2 separate regions of the Homo sapiens genome follow, and region 1 is linked to region 2. Evidence: promoter capture Hi-C in 16 types of primary human blood cells and fetal thymus (Javierre and others, 2016). All regions are on one chromosome and are shown on one strand. Each heading gives the region's core, a stretch centred on a gene start or on the middle of the fragment in contact. The rest is flanking DNA. Distances are from core to core; before and after follow the strand shown. Region 1 has its middle 130 kb from the start of MIR548AO. Region 2 holds the start of GINS4 (GINS complex subunit 4).

Region 1 (6,675 bases), core at 300-2,799, 390 kb before region 2:
TCAACAGAAGTGTGAGGGGACAAACATCCAAATGACACAAACATCCAAACCACAGCACTGCCCACAGCCTCTCTCATTAGTGGAGGGGAGATGAGTTGCCTACAATAGGAAAGGCCTGTGGAAATCTCCTCTGAAAACACAATGTAAGCCTTTTTAAAAATTATTATTTATTTTTATTTAGAGACAGGGTCTCACTTTGTTGCTCAGGCTGGAGTGCAGTGGCACAATCACAGCTCACCGCAGCCTTGACTTCTTGGGCTCAAGAGATCCTCCTGCCTCAGCCTCCTGAGTAACTGAGACTACAAGTGCATATCACCACACCTGGCTAAATTTTGCTTATTTTTTGTAAAGACAGGGTCTCACTATGTTTCCCAGGCTGGTCTCAAATTCCTGGGCTCAAGCGACCCTCCTGCCTCAGCCTCTCAAAGTGCTGGGATTACAGGTGTGAGACACCGTGCCCGGCTAGTGTACACGGTTTGATGTGCACGCTGTGCTGGATCTCTTCTGCTTTGCCCTCTAGATGGAATTTCTATCCTCCACTCTGCCATGAGCTCCTGAAAACTGGACATGTGCACAACAGCAAGCCCACATAACTTCTGTCTTCCTGTTGAGTTCAGCCCAAGAAAGATCGGGAAATCTACTTCCTCATGCCCCTCCCAGGGGTACCGCTGCAAGCTGGCTGCAAGTCCTGCCGGGCTGGTTCTGATACTGTCCCCTGCCCTTGTTCCTTAAGCCCAGTGGGGGTAAGACCTCCCCAGTTCCAGTCCTGTGTTCTTCACTATACTTCGTGGCCAGCCTACACTCTTCCCACACCTTTGTAAAAAGCCCTTGTGTTAAACACCCTCTCAAATCTCCCGGTTCCAGCATGCCATCTGTTTCCTGCAGGGACCCTGGCTGATCAGGTACAGCACATGGCAGAGGAATGTTCAAGACTGGAGGTCTGCGGGGAACAGACCATCTCCCGGCAGGTTCAACAGGGGATGCTGCATCAGGCCCAGAGGACAGGGTCTGAAGATGCTGGAAGAAGGGGATGAAGAGGCTACATCCGGAGGCAGAGAGGATGGTGGTATGATGGGGATGGGGTGTGGCCACTTCAAATCCTCTGCCCCAACATTAGCAAGAGGGAGAAGCTCAGGACATCAGTCCAGGTTCTGGGAGAGCACCAGGGACACCTGCAGTCCAAATGAGGAAAGCGTCGCCCCCACTGGCCAGCTGTCACCACAGAGCCAAATGGGGAAATCAATCAGGATTATGATTATGGGATACAGGTTGGGGATGCTCTAAAAAGAGCCCCCAGCGTTCACGACAGTTTTCCAGTCAATCTGAACACAGGTAGAGCAGCCAGTGAAAGGTTGCAGCTCTTCCCAAAAGGATGTGGGGTCAGATTCGGAGCCTGGTGCCACTGACAAGTCCTGCCTTGCCTTTGGGGACAGATCCAAGGCCCTAGGACAAGAGCCAGAGGCTGAAGAAACTTGGAAGAAACAGCTGCCCGGCCTCAGGAAGAGGGCCCTTCTTTCTTGGTGGGTTGTCTGGGAAGAAAGCTAATGTTTTTGATTGTAGGCAAGCAGGGTACCAAAACTACATCCCTTGTCCCTTCCCTAGCACAAACAGAGAAACCTTGGAAAAGGAAGCCAGACACACAGCCAGTCTCCAAAGTGGGGCACACCATCTCCAAATGGATTACATGACCCATTGAGCAGCCTTCACCGTGGATTATTTAGGCACTGTTAAGAGTCAGGGCTCTATAAATTGGATGTAAAATGCATGCGGGTTTCCTGTAGTTTATCAAGCTGGTAACTCCCTAAAACCAGAACACAGAGCAAGAATATGCCAAAGAGCTGAAGAAGGAGGAGATGAAAACTTTCTAAAGTTAACGCTGGATTCAGAACCCAAGATTTAGCACCCTGCTCACCCAGCCCACGGGTATTTAGGGGAGGGCCCACTTGACCTTGGCCTCAAAGGCAGGAGATGTCGCCCCTGGTTATTTTTTATGGATTCATCATGCACAATTTACTTGTTTCCGCAGAGATTTATATTTTTAATCTGGACTGACTCTTGCGCTCTCTAAATTTACTACCTTGGAAACAACAGTACTTCCTTTTGTTTATTCTACACTGTACTTCTTTCAAGCCGTGAAGAGTGTTCCTGAACTGGGTGTTCTGGAAAAGCTCCCTCCGGCTATTCCCACTCATCAGTTTAGTAGGCTTTGGTCATATTTGCTTTGAGTTTCATCCATCCAGCCCACCTGTATTTATTGAGCACTTACTATGTGCCCTGAATTGGGCATCTCTGCCTCCACTACACTCATTTTTTTGGTTCTTTTGATTGTTCTTCACTCTTTTCTTTCTTCACTTACCCATCTAAATAATTTCACTGGGCGAGGTGCAGTAGCTCATGCCTGTAATCCCAGCACCTTGGGAGGCCAGGGAGAGAGAATCACTTGAAGCCAGGAAATTGAGACCAGGCTGAGTAAGAAAATGAGATGCCATCTCTACAAAAAAAAAGAAAAAATTAGCTAGGCATAGTGGTGCGCTGGTAGTCACAGCTACTTGGGATGCTTCTGAGGAAGGATCGCATGAGCCTGGGAGGTCAAGGCTGCAGTGAGCTGTGACCATGCCACTGCACTCCAGCCTGGGTGGCGCGGTGAGACCCTTTCCCTAATAATAATAGTAATGATGATAGCTTCACTGACCTGCAAAAATTAAATAAGCATATCACCATTTTCTTTTCACAAAAGAGGGAACCAAGGTGCAGAGATATTTCATTCTCAAGAACTACTGCAAAGCTGCAGTCTCATCTGAAGGAGATGAGTGTTGAAGTTTGCAGACTTGGGTTCAAATTCTGGCTCTACTGCTTACCAGCCAGGTGACCTTGGGTATGTTGAGGAACTGCCCTGAGCCTTAATCTCCTCATCTGTAGAATGGACGTCATATCACTTCTCTCAAAAGATTCTGAAGAATTAAATAAGAAAAAAAAAAAAAGAATTAAATAAGAAAACACTTGCATGTGACATAGGAGCAGTTCTTCATATGAATCCAGGCCACTTGTTTGCAGAAACATGGCCCTTCCACTACAAGAAGGCATAAGACTACAGAGGCAGGACAGGGACAGGAAGGCAAGAGTTAGATTCATTGATTTCCTGACATCCTGCACATTATGAGAAGGAAACAAAATTAACCAAATGCCAAGCACAGCTTTCCCCTAAAGTGGGAGTGTCAGCATCCTCTCTCTCCCTGGCCAACGTCTTCCTTCAGAGGGATGTCATGCAGAGAACAAGGAACCAGAGTCACGAACGGGCCGGGCCCTTGTTTCAAGTCATAAGTTAATGCCACCTTTGGCTGGTTGCCATTTTGTGAAATTGTAGGAAGATGTGTCAGTCTTTCAGTGTTTGATCGCTCTCTAACCTAAGAAAGAATTTCCCTCTAGACCTGGACATGAATGTGAAGGCTGGGGGCATATTTGGTACCCAACTGAGAATAGAACTCTTGCTAAGCAAGAAAGACTCAAAGCCCTTGAGAAAGATTCATGGCGAGGACTGTGCAGAGGAAACCGACTGTTTAAGGACACCTTCCAGGTCTGTGTGGGTCCAGGGCAGGAGCCGCAGAGGGGCAGACCCCCAAGGTGATCAGAGCACTTGATTGTGGCAAGGAAGGGCATGTGGTCCCTTCTGTGCCCCATAGGTGAGATCAGTAGTGACCAACCTGGGGCCCACACTTGTTCTCTGCAGGCTTGCTAGCAGATGGCTTGTGCTGTGTCCTCCCCTCAGTGTCATCCTTTTAACAAGAATCACAGAATTGAAGCTTTCAAGGGTCTCCGGGTAGCAGGTGGTGGAGGCTCCGCTAAGGCTCTGGGAGGTGTACTGGAGTTGAAGTGAGAGGCATCACCCTGGGAGGGTCTCTCCCATCCTTGCTCCTCCCCTGTCCAGTGAGGGACTAGATCAGCACTTCCCTCAAAGTCTGCTGCCTGGACCATCAATTTCAAATGACCAAGGTCCATGGTAACGGTGTGGATTCCTGGCCCATGCAAGCTGACTGGGTGATTCTACTAACTTTGAGAACCCCAGACACAATAATCAGTAACTCTCTTCCAGACCTAATAACACAGAACTGCGTGACCACACACAGACAAAAACACCTCCAGCACCTCACCTTGTCACCTTTGGAAAGACTGGGCCCTGAGTATCAGAGTCTGATCAGAACACCACCCCTACCACCTTCATTTCTTTAGCCTAAAGCTCCGGCCTTCATTGAAATAAAATCTCATGCAGTAAATTGTTATCAGTCGTTTATACCCCCAGGAGCCTGAGCTTCAAATAATTTGCTGAGGACAGATGTGAGCCCAGAGAAAAACCAGGAGGGTAGGGTGGGGAGATGGGCAGGAGAGGGGAAAGTGTAGGGGAGAGGGTCCAGGGACCTAGAAATTTCTGAGATAAATATTGCCCCATTCACAATTTCAACTATGGCTGGTGCCGAATAAGAACGAATCTTCCCAAACAGGCACATACCTAGTGGTTCTCGCCCATCCTACTTCGGGAGTTTGTTCCTGACCTTGCTACTTGTTTGAAGCTTAGCACATCCTGACCGAAGCCTTAGACCCTGCTTCCAACAGAATTTGAACTGGAAACTAGTGTTTGCCCAAGGCTTTCCTGCTGAAAAATAATATTTGTGGAAGGACAGAGCTGGCTCAGAAGTTCTGAGCAGATCCAGAAGCTTCTCTTTCACAGTCTGTGTCTGTGTAACCGGCCACTCCTCATCCACAACTCCATTCATCTCTCATGTTTTGGCACTTCTGGGGGACATTCTGGCCCCTTCAGACCCTCAAAAGGGAACCAGGAAAGAGTATACAGGGCTTTTTTTTGCAGGGCTATGAATACCCTCACTCAGAAAGGGTCAGGGCAGGTACCAAGCTGTCTTATCCAGAATTTGGTGCTGTTTTTGCTTGCTCTTTGAAGCTACTTAGGCTTCCCTTTGCACTCCTGTGACTCTTTAGAAGAGTCCAATTCCTCCTTATTTATTTATTTCATGCTGACTTCTAAGCTCCCCGACACCCAGTGAGTCCCCTCTTCCCCCAGACACATCCCCGTCCCATCCTCCCTTCTCACTGTGCCTGCATGTAAGGGCTCACTCAGCCCTTTCTCAGATCTGCTGGAGGTGCTCTGCTCCTTTAAGGGGCTCCTCACAGCAGGACGTGGGACCACAGCCTACAGGACCGGCCAGCCATTCTGACAGGTGAGAGCCTGGATCCCTGCTCTCCAGAACCTCAAGAAGCTCAGAGCCTGAACGTGCTGACACAAGGGGCTCCCTCTCTCACAAGGACACTCTGTGCCAGATGCATTGTGCAGAGTACCTCCACCATGACCAGGTGATTTAGGCATCCTTGTGCTTTCTGCAGATAAGGCGAGGGGGACTCTTGGAGGTGACCTAGCTTGCCCAATGTCCCGCCCAGGCACATGGAGAGCTGTGATTCTAAGTCAATGTCTCCAACCCAAAGCCCAGTGCCCTTCACATCTGATAGGGACAAGACAGCAATACCAGGAGGGACCTGCAGGTGGAGTGGTGACATGATGGAAGCAGTAGCTTCTGGAAGAGCTTCTGGAATCCATGTGTGAGATGGACTGGGAGGAAGATGAGTAAAGATCGGCCACAACGGGGAGGCGGTGAGAAGCATCAAAATGATTAGGTGACTTCGTGGATGTAAATCCTTTTCCAGGGCAAAGCTAAAAACAACTCTTTGTGACAGGAAGGGGTTAACTCTCTCAAGAGAGCTCAATGACTACCCAGTCTCAGAGCCCCTGCTGTGCTCAGGCAGAAAATGGGCAGGAGTAGCCCAAGGAATACTTTATTGATGCGGTGATCGGCCTCACATGAAACTGCAGTTTGTGGAGGGCAGCAAGCAGCCCAGACTGTGATAGTTGAAGCAGGTTAGAGCTGCATAACCCTAAACAGCAGAGTTTTATCAGTCCTTCAGCTCCTGTGCCCTCCCAGCTCCAGACATCCACCAGCAGGCTCTAACCTCAGGATTTCCCATGGTGCACAGAAGACTTGTCCTGATTTGGGATAATGGAGACAGTGTGACCATGGTGGTAGTTGGGAGTGGGAACTGTTCCCTGAACCCAGCCTGAAGCAATTTTAAAGGGCAGGGCCACCCGGGGCCCAGGGTCTGCAGCTAGTTAAAAAAATAATCTCTGATGAGGTCTCAAGGTTTGGCTCTTTTTCTCTCCACTGATTTCTCCCAGACAGACCAGATGGATTTGGTTCCAGGTCAGCGTGTTCTCTTACCCTTCAGCTCAGCAGCCATCCATTTCTCCTGTCTACCTCTCCTAACTATCTGCAGTAATAAAATCCTACCTTGAACAGTGCATTCTGATTTGCAAAGCTCCCTCAATGCACGATCTCATTTGGTCTTCTTAACAATACTAAGGTAGAGGTATTTTTTCCCATTTTACGGATGAAAACCTGAAGCTCAGAAGCTATCACTTGCCCAAGGCCATAAAAACTGAGCCCAGGCACGACACAGTGGTGCCTGTAATCCCAGCACTTTGGGAGGCCAAGGTGGGCAGATCATCTGAGGTCAGGAGTTCGAGACCAGCCTGACCAACATGGTGAAACCCCATCTCTACTAAAAATACAAAAATTAGCCAGGTGTGGTGGCACATGCCTGTAGTCCCAGCTACTC
Region 2 (6,068 bases), core at 201-2,700:
GAAGCAACGCTTTGCACAGAAAACAAAGGACAGCAAAGAGAAAAGAATCAGCAACTCAGAGAAGAAAAACTGGATCACACAAAGATGGAAAAAATATATACATATACAGACATGGGTTTTTGTGCTTTTCCCCTCCAGAAGGTGAGTTGAAAGCATTGCCCCAAAGCAGTGATTCTCTTTTCTTTTTTCTTTTTTTTTCTTTTTTTTGAGATGGAGTCTGGCTCTGTCTCCCAGGCTGGAGTGCAGTGACGCCATCTTGGCTCACTGCAGGCTCCGCCTCCCGGGTTCACGCCATTCTCCCGCCTCAGCCTCCCGAGTAGCTGGGACTACAGGCGCCCGCCACCACGCCCGGCTAATTTTTTTGTATTTTTAGTAGAGACGGGGTTTCACCATGTTAGCCAGGATGGTCTCGATCTCCTGACCTCGTGATCCGCCCACCTCGGCCTCCCAAAGTGCTGGGATTACAGGCGTGAGCCACCGCGCCCGGCCCCAAAGCAGTGATTCTCAAACCTCAGCTGTGTCAGGGTCACCGGGAGGGCCTGGGTCTGGTGAAATACCCCCAGTTTCTGATTCGGTGGGCCAGGGTGGGGCCTGAGAACCTGCATTTTCACGGATTCCCAGGCGATGCTTCTGCTGGTCGTCCGATCCCAGGCTTCAAGAACCAGTACCCACTTTGTGAGGCCGAGGTGGGAGGATTGCTTGGATCCTTGAGTTCGAGACCAGCCTGGCCATCATAGGGAGAACCTCCCCACCCCCAACCCCGCCACAGTTCTTTTTTTTTTTTTTTTTAATTAAAAAATAACTGGGCGTGGTGGCGCTGGCCTGTGGTCCCAGCTACTCCGGAGGCTGAGGTGGGAGGATCGCTGGAGCCCGGGAGGCGGAGGTTGCAGTGAGCTGTGGTGGTGCCACTGCACTCCAGCCTGGGCACCAGAACGAGACCCTGTCTCAAGAAAGATGAAAAGGAATATACTGGAGATTCTGAAGGCAATGACCACACTGACCACAGGTGAAACCCCGCAAAGACGGAGGAACCCAAAGAGCCACGAGAGCTGTGGGTGGAGACGGCCCAGGAGGCTGCAGCGGCCTGCTTTCAACAGCATACTTCTGGGTGGGACCCCCCGGGGCGGACACCGCCGCTCCCCTTGGCCGCGGTGGCGGGCGCCCCCTCCCGACGCTCTTGGGTAGTGCAACCCGGACCGCACAGCGGAGCGGCCGGCCCCCAGGTGGGCGGGGCCAACCCGGACCAGCCTCCCGCCGCCTCAAGTCCTTGGGTTGCTGGGACTGCAGGCCGCCGCGAAGACAGTCCCCGCCCGCCGGGTGGGCGGGCCCAAGGAGACCGCCCCGCTCTTCCCCCCGGGCCTTGATTGGTCAGCGTCGCCCTTGCGCGATGACGTCGTGCCTGGGCGGAAACTTTGCGAGAGTAGCGCGGGAGCTGAGAAGTTGCAGGGTTGAGTTGGTCCCGGCAAGTCCTTGAGCAGTTTGTTCCTCTGTCTTCCCGCTTCCTGGTGCCCCGACTGCGTCCCCACGAACGCCCCGTCCTTACCGCCGGCTGCTGTGGAGTGCCTCGCTGTCTCCCAGGTCCCCGAGTGAGCGTCGAATGGGACCTCTGTGGCTAGGGCAGGCCTGTGTGGGTGGCACTGAGAGGGAGGAGGGGAGGGGGATGTTCGCAGTTTCCTTGCGACCCCAGGGACTTTCTTTGTCCCCGCCATCCACCTCCTTAGGCCTTTGGGATCGCCGACTGGTCTAATGTCGCCGGCCCTTGTGGCTCTGGGAAATTAGCATTGATTAATCTTCCTAACAATTTTTGTTTTTATAGAGACAGGATCTCCCTATGTTGCCCAGGCTGGTCTCGAACTCCTGGGCTCAAGGTATCTTCCTGCCTCGGCTTCCCAAAGTGCTGGGATTACAGGCGTGAGCCCGGCCAGCTCCTAATAATGTTAAGTGCTTGCTAGGAGTCAAGCGCTGTGCTGAGCGCAGGGGCTTCCCACGTCATTGCGTCCCCAGTGCTTAGTGCCAGGCACTGAGCAGAGGCGCGATTCGTATTTGAACTAAAACGAACCCCGTCCCTGAGGAACAAGACCTCTACTGGGAAGTCAAAGAAATGAATAGTGATTGTATGGTGTGATGGGTGCTCAGCTCTTGGTGGACAGAAGTAAGGGGGAGGCTTGTTTGAGAAACGGATACCTGACCTAAGCCTTGGAGGAAGAGGCAGACACTGGAAAACTAGAGTCCCTGCGTTCTCTCACCACTTGCTAAAGGGCCTCTACAACCCCAGGAAACCTCAATAAACCTTTCCTTTCTCCAGATAGATGTCTGTTCTTGCAGATAATTAGAAAACGCATTGCAGAGTATTGGTTCTTTCCCTCTCATTAGGTTCCTGGTTTCAGAGAAGATGACCGAAGAAGTGGATTTCCTGGGACAGGACTCTGATGGGGGTAGTGAGGAAGTGGTCCTAACTCCTGCAGAGCTCATTGAAAGATTGGAGCAGGTAAGCATCCCAGATCGAATCCCTTTGCTCCAGTCAGCCTTTTTATTTAGTTCAACTGTGAATATCAGGGATCACAAGATGAGGAAACGGAATTTGGGGCTTACTTTAGAACAGGGACTGGATCTTACCATCTACATGGAAACGGGAAGCAAGAAGGACATCCTCTGTTAGAGACCTCATCATATCAAACACAGCATCCCCAAGTGGGGTCAGTAAGGGACAGCTTTGGGCACATTCAGTGAACAGTTCACAGAGCAAGGATCCACGTGATATTTTCAGGGACTGTAGAGGTCCCTGAACTTCTTTACCTTAGTCCCTTGAACATCTGCTGTTTCCCTGGAGAATGCCTGTTTAGCAAGAAAATGCTGAAATGCCTGTAAGGGAAAACTGGTCATATTTTTCCTTTTTCTCACATGTTTTTTCTTGAGTCGTCTGCTCTCCATATGTCCACTGCTTATCTAAAATCCTTTCTGAAATATTTCTCCTTTAAGTTGTAATAGCTATGACTTACTGCATATTTCCCATGTGCCAGTAACTGTGTTCTTTACACTTATATCTCATGATGCTCTGGTAACAGGAGTTCAGACTATCTGGATTTAAATCTGTCTGTGACACTCCTCTGTTATGTGATCTTGAGCAAGTTAGGGAGTTTGTCTCAAGCCGTTGCTTGCCTATAAAATTGAGACAATAGGGCCGGGCACGGTGGCTCAAGCCTGTAATGCCAGCACTTTGGGAGGCTGAGGTGGGCGGATCACCTGAGGTCCAGGAGTTCGAGACCAGCCTTACCAACATGGTAAAATCCCGTCTCTACTAAAAAACAAAAATTAGCCGGATGTGGTGGCGCATGCCTGTAATCCCAGCTACTCGGGAGGCTAAGGCCGGAGGATCACCTGAACCTGGGAGGCAGAGGTTGTGGTGAGCCAAGATCCTACCCACCATTGCACTCCAGCCTGGGCAACAAGAGTGAAACTCCGTCTCAAAAAAATAATAAAATAAAATTGAGATGATAATAGTGTCTATGTCCTGGAGTTTTTGATTAAATGTGGTAATTGTGTAAAGCACTCAGCATGCTATCTGACACATGATAAGCACTCACTAGATGTGAGCTGTTCATAGTAAGTATCCTTATCCTCTTGCTCTAACTGCCCCTTTCCAGAGCTCTCTCATGTTTGCTACTTTAGTATTCTTCATTCTTCCCTGCCATACATGATATCACGAATGACAAAACGGAACTAAAATGATTTTTAAATTATACCTTACATGATAATCCTTACTATTTAGCAGTGATTCTTAATCTGTTTTTATATCACAGACCTTTTTGAGAAACTGGTAGAAACTGTGGTCTTTCATCCCACAATAACGCACACATGCACCCATGCAGAATTTTGCATATGACTTCCAGGGGATCAGAGATCCCCTGAAATCCACCCACAGACCTAGTTTGTGGAACAGCATTAAGAATTCCTGGTTCGTTAGGAAAGGGTTCATTAAACAAAAATCAAAAGGCACATAGCATAAAGGAAAAAAGGGATACATTCCTGGAGTGCAGTGGTGTGATCTTGGTTCACTTGCAGCCTCCACCTCCCAGGTTCAAGCGATTCTCCTGCATCAGCCTCCTGAGTAGCTGGGCCTACAGGTGTGCACCACCACGCCTGGCTACTTTTTGTATTTTTAGTAGAGATGGGGTTTCACCATATTGGGTTTCGCTGTGTTGGCCAGGCTGGTCTTGAACTCCTGACCTTGTGATCTGCCTGCCTTAGCCTCCCAAAGTGCTGGGATTACAGGCATGAGCCTCTGTGCCCAGCCTGTTTGTACTTCTGGATTAGAGTGAAAAGACAGGCCACCAGGCTGGGAGAAGATATTTGCAAAATACTAATATGTAGCTGACACAAGATGATTATCCACAGTACATAAACAGCTCTTTCATACTGCCCAGTACAGACTGATACCTCAGAGAAGAAGAAAACAGGATGACCAATAAGCATATGAAAAAGATGTTCAACCTTTTTAGTAATCAGGAAAATGAAAATCATGAGATATCATCTCATATCTATCAGATTGGAAGAACTGAAAAACGTGAGCAATATAAAGTATGGCAAGAATGTAGAGCAGCTGAGCGCAGTGGCTCATGCCTGTAGTTCTAGCAACTCAGGAAGCCCAAGTGGGAGGTTCATTTGAACCCAGGAGTTTGAGACCATCCTGAGGATCATAGCGAGATCTTATCCCAAAAAGAGAAAATTAAGAATATAGGGCAGGCCGGGTGCGGTGGCTCACACCTGTAATCCCAGCACTTTGGGAGACCGAGAGGGGCGGATCACCTGAAGTCAGGAGTTCAAGACCATCCTGGCCAACATGGCGAAACCCCGTCTCTACCAAAAATACAAAAATTAGCCAGGCTTGTTGGCATGCCTGTAATCCCAGCTACTCAGGAGGTTGAGGCAGGAGAATCTCTTGAACCCAGGAGGTGGAGATTGCAGAGAGCCGAGATCATGCCACTGCACTCCAGCCTGGGCAACAGAGCAAGACTCCATCTCAAAAAAAAAAAAAAAAAAATGAAGAGCAATTTGCACACTTATATACTGCCGTGGGATATAAATAGGTATAATCGCTTTGGAAAATAATTTGTTATTGTCTAGTAAAGATGAAGGTGCACATACCTGCGGCCCAGTAGTTCCACCCCCAGGTACATACCTAGTGAAAACTTCCGCATGTACTCTAGGAGACATCCACAGTATGTTCACACATTGCTTGCAATAGTTAAAAATTAAAATAACCTAGACAACCGTAAACAAATAGCATTGAGAAAATATACCATACACAGTGGGAATAAAACAGCAGTGAAAATGAGTAAAATAACTCCTGAAACAGCATGAATAACAGGAACTTAATGTAGAACAATAACAACCATAAAATATGAGCTGCCAAAGAAACACTTTATGTAAAGTTCAAACTTGCAAAATTATTGTTCAAGGCAGAGCCGCCACCCTTGGGTGATGTGGCACACTGCTATGCCACAGATGCCTCTGTGTGGACCCCTGCACCTTCCAGGACAGCTGGAGCCCCAGGCTGGTTACTTTTTCAAGTGAGCATCATCGGGGTCCTTGAAAGGCAGCTAGAGGATGGGGCGGCGGGGGTTCTGACAGCACAGCTGCAGCTTGCTGGTGGGTAAGCTGCAGTAACATCTCATGCCTGATGCTCTAGTGCAGTGCCCTGAGTGCAGCCAAGGAAGTGACCCGCCACCTGCACGGCTGCCACAGCCAGATCCTGTCTCTTATGCTGTGTGGCACAGCCAAAGGGACAGCCTGACAGGGCTGCTGATGAGAACAGCTCCAGGAGCATATATAGGATACCCTTTAATGCCTGTAAAAAGTGATTTAAAAGTTGTTACCTGTAGTGCAGATTTGCTCATTTTAGTGATTGTTTTAGTTTGCTAGGGCCACAGAGCGAAGTCCCAAAGACTGGGTGGCTTAAATAGAAATTTATTTTCTTAATTCTAGAGGCTGAGGTCAAAGTGCCAGCATAGTTGTCTTCTTCCGAGTCCTCTGTCTTGGGTTTGTAGGTGACCATATTCTCCCTGTGT

What was found. The method cuts DNA at HindIII sites, captures the fragments that hold promoters and counts their contacts. A CHiCAGO score of 5 or more calls a contact.
Region 1: a contact is called between a fragment that was not itself captured here and the fragment with the promoter of GINS4 in region 2, in 1 of 17 cell types (endothelial precursors). The highest score is 5.9, in endothelial precursors.

What each region holds. Positions count from the first base shown.
Region 1 is chr8:41,140,994-41,147,668 of GRCh38, forward strand. No RefSeq gene overlaps it. Among named protein-coding and RNA genes, the nearest start is that of MIR548AO, 130 kb to the right of the region's middle. The HindIII fragment of the contact is 4,498 bases long and covers 1-3,798 here.
Region 2 is chr8:41,527,811-41,533,878 of GRCh38, forward strand. It overlaps GINS4 (GINS complex subunit 4), which reads left to right and starts at 1,451. Exons shown (of 8, transcript NM_032336.3): 1 at 1,451-1,586; 2 at 2,374-2,488. The coding sequence starts at 2,393. RefSeq lists a silencer at 997-1,426. The HindIII fragment of the contact is 13,395 bases long and covers 1-6,068 here.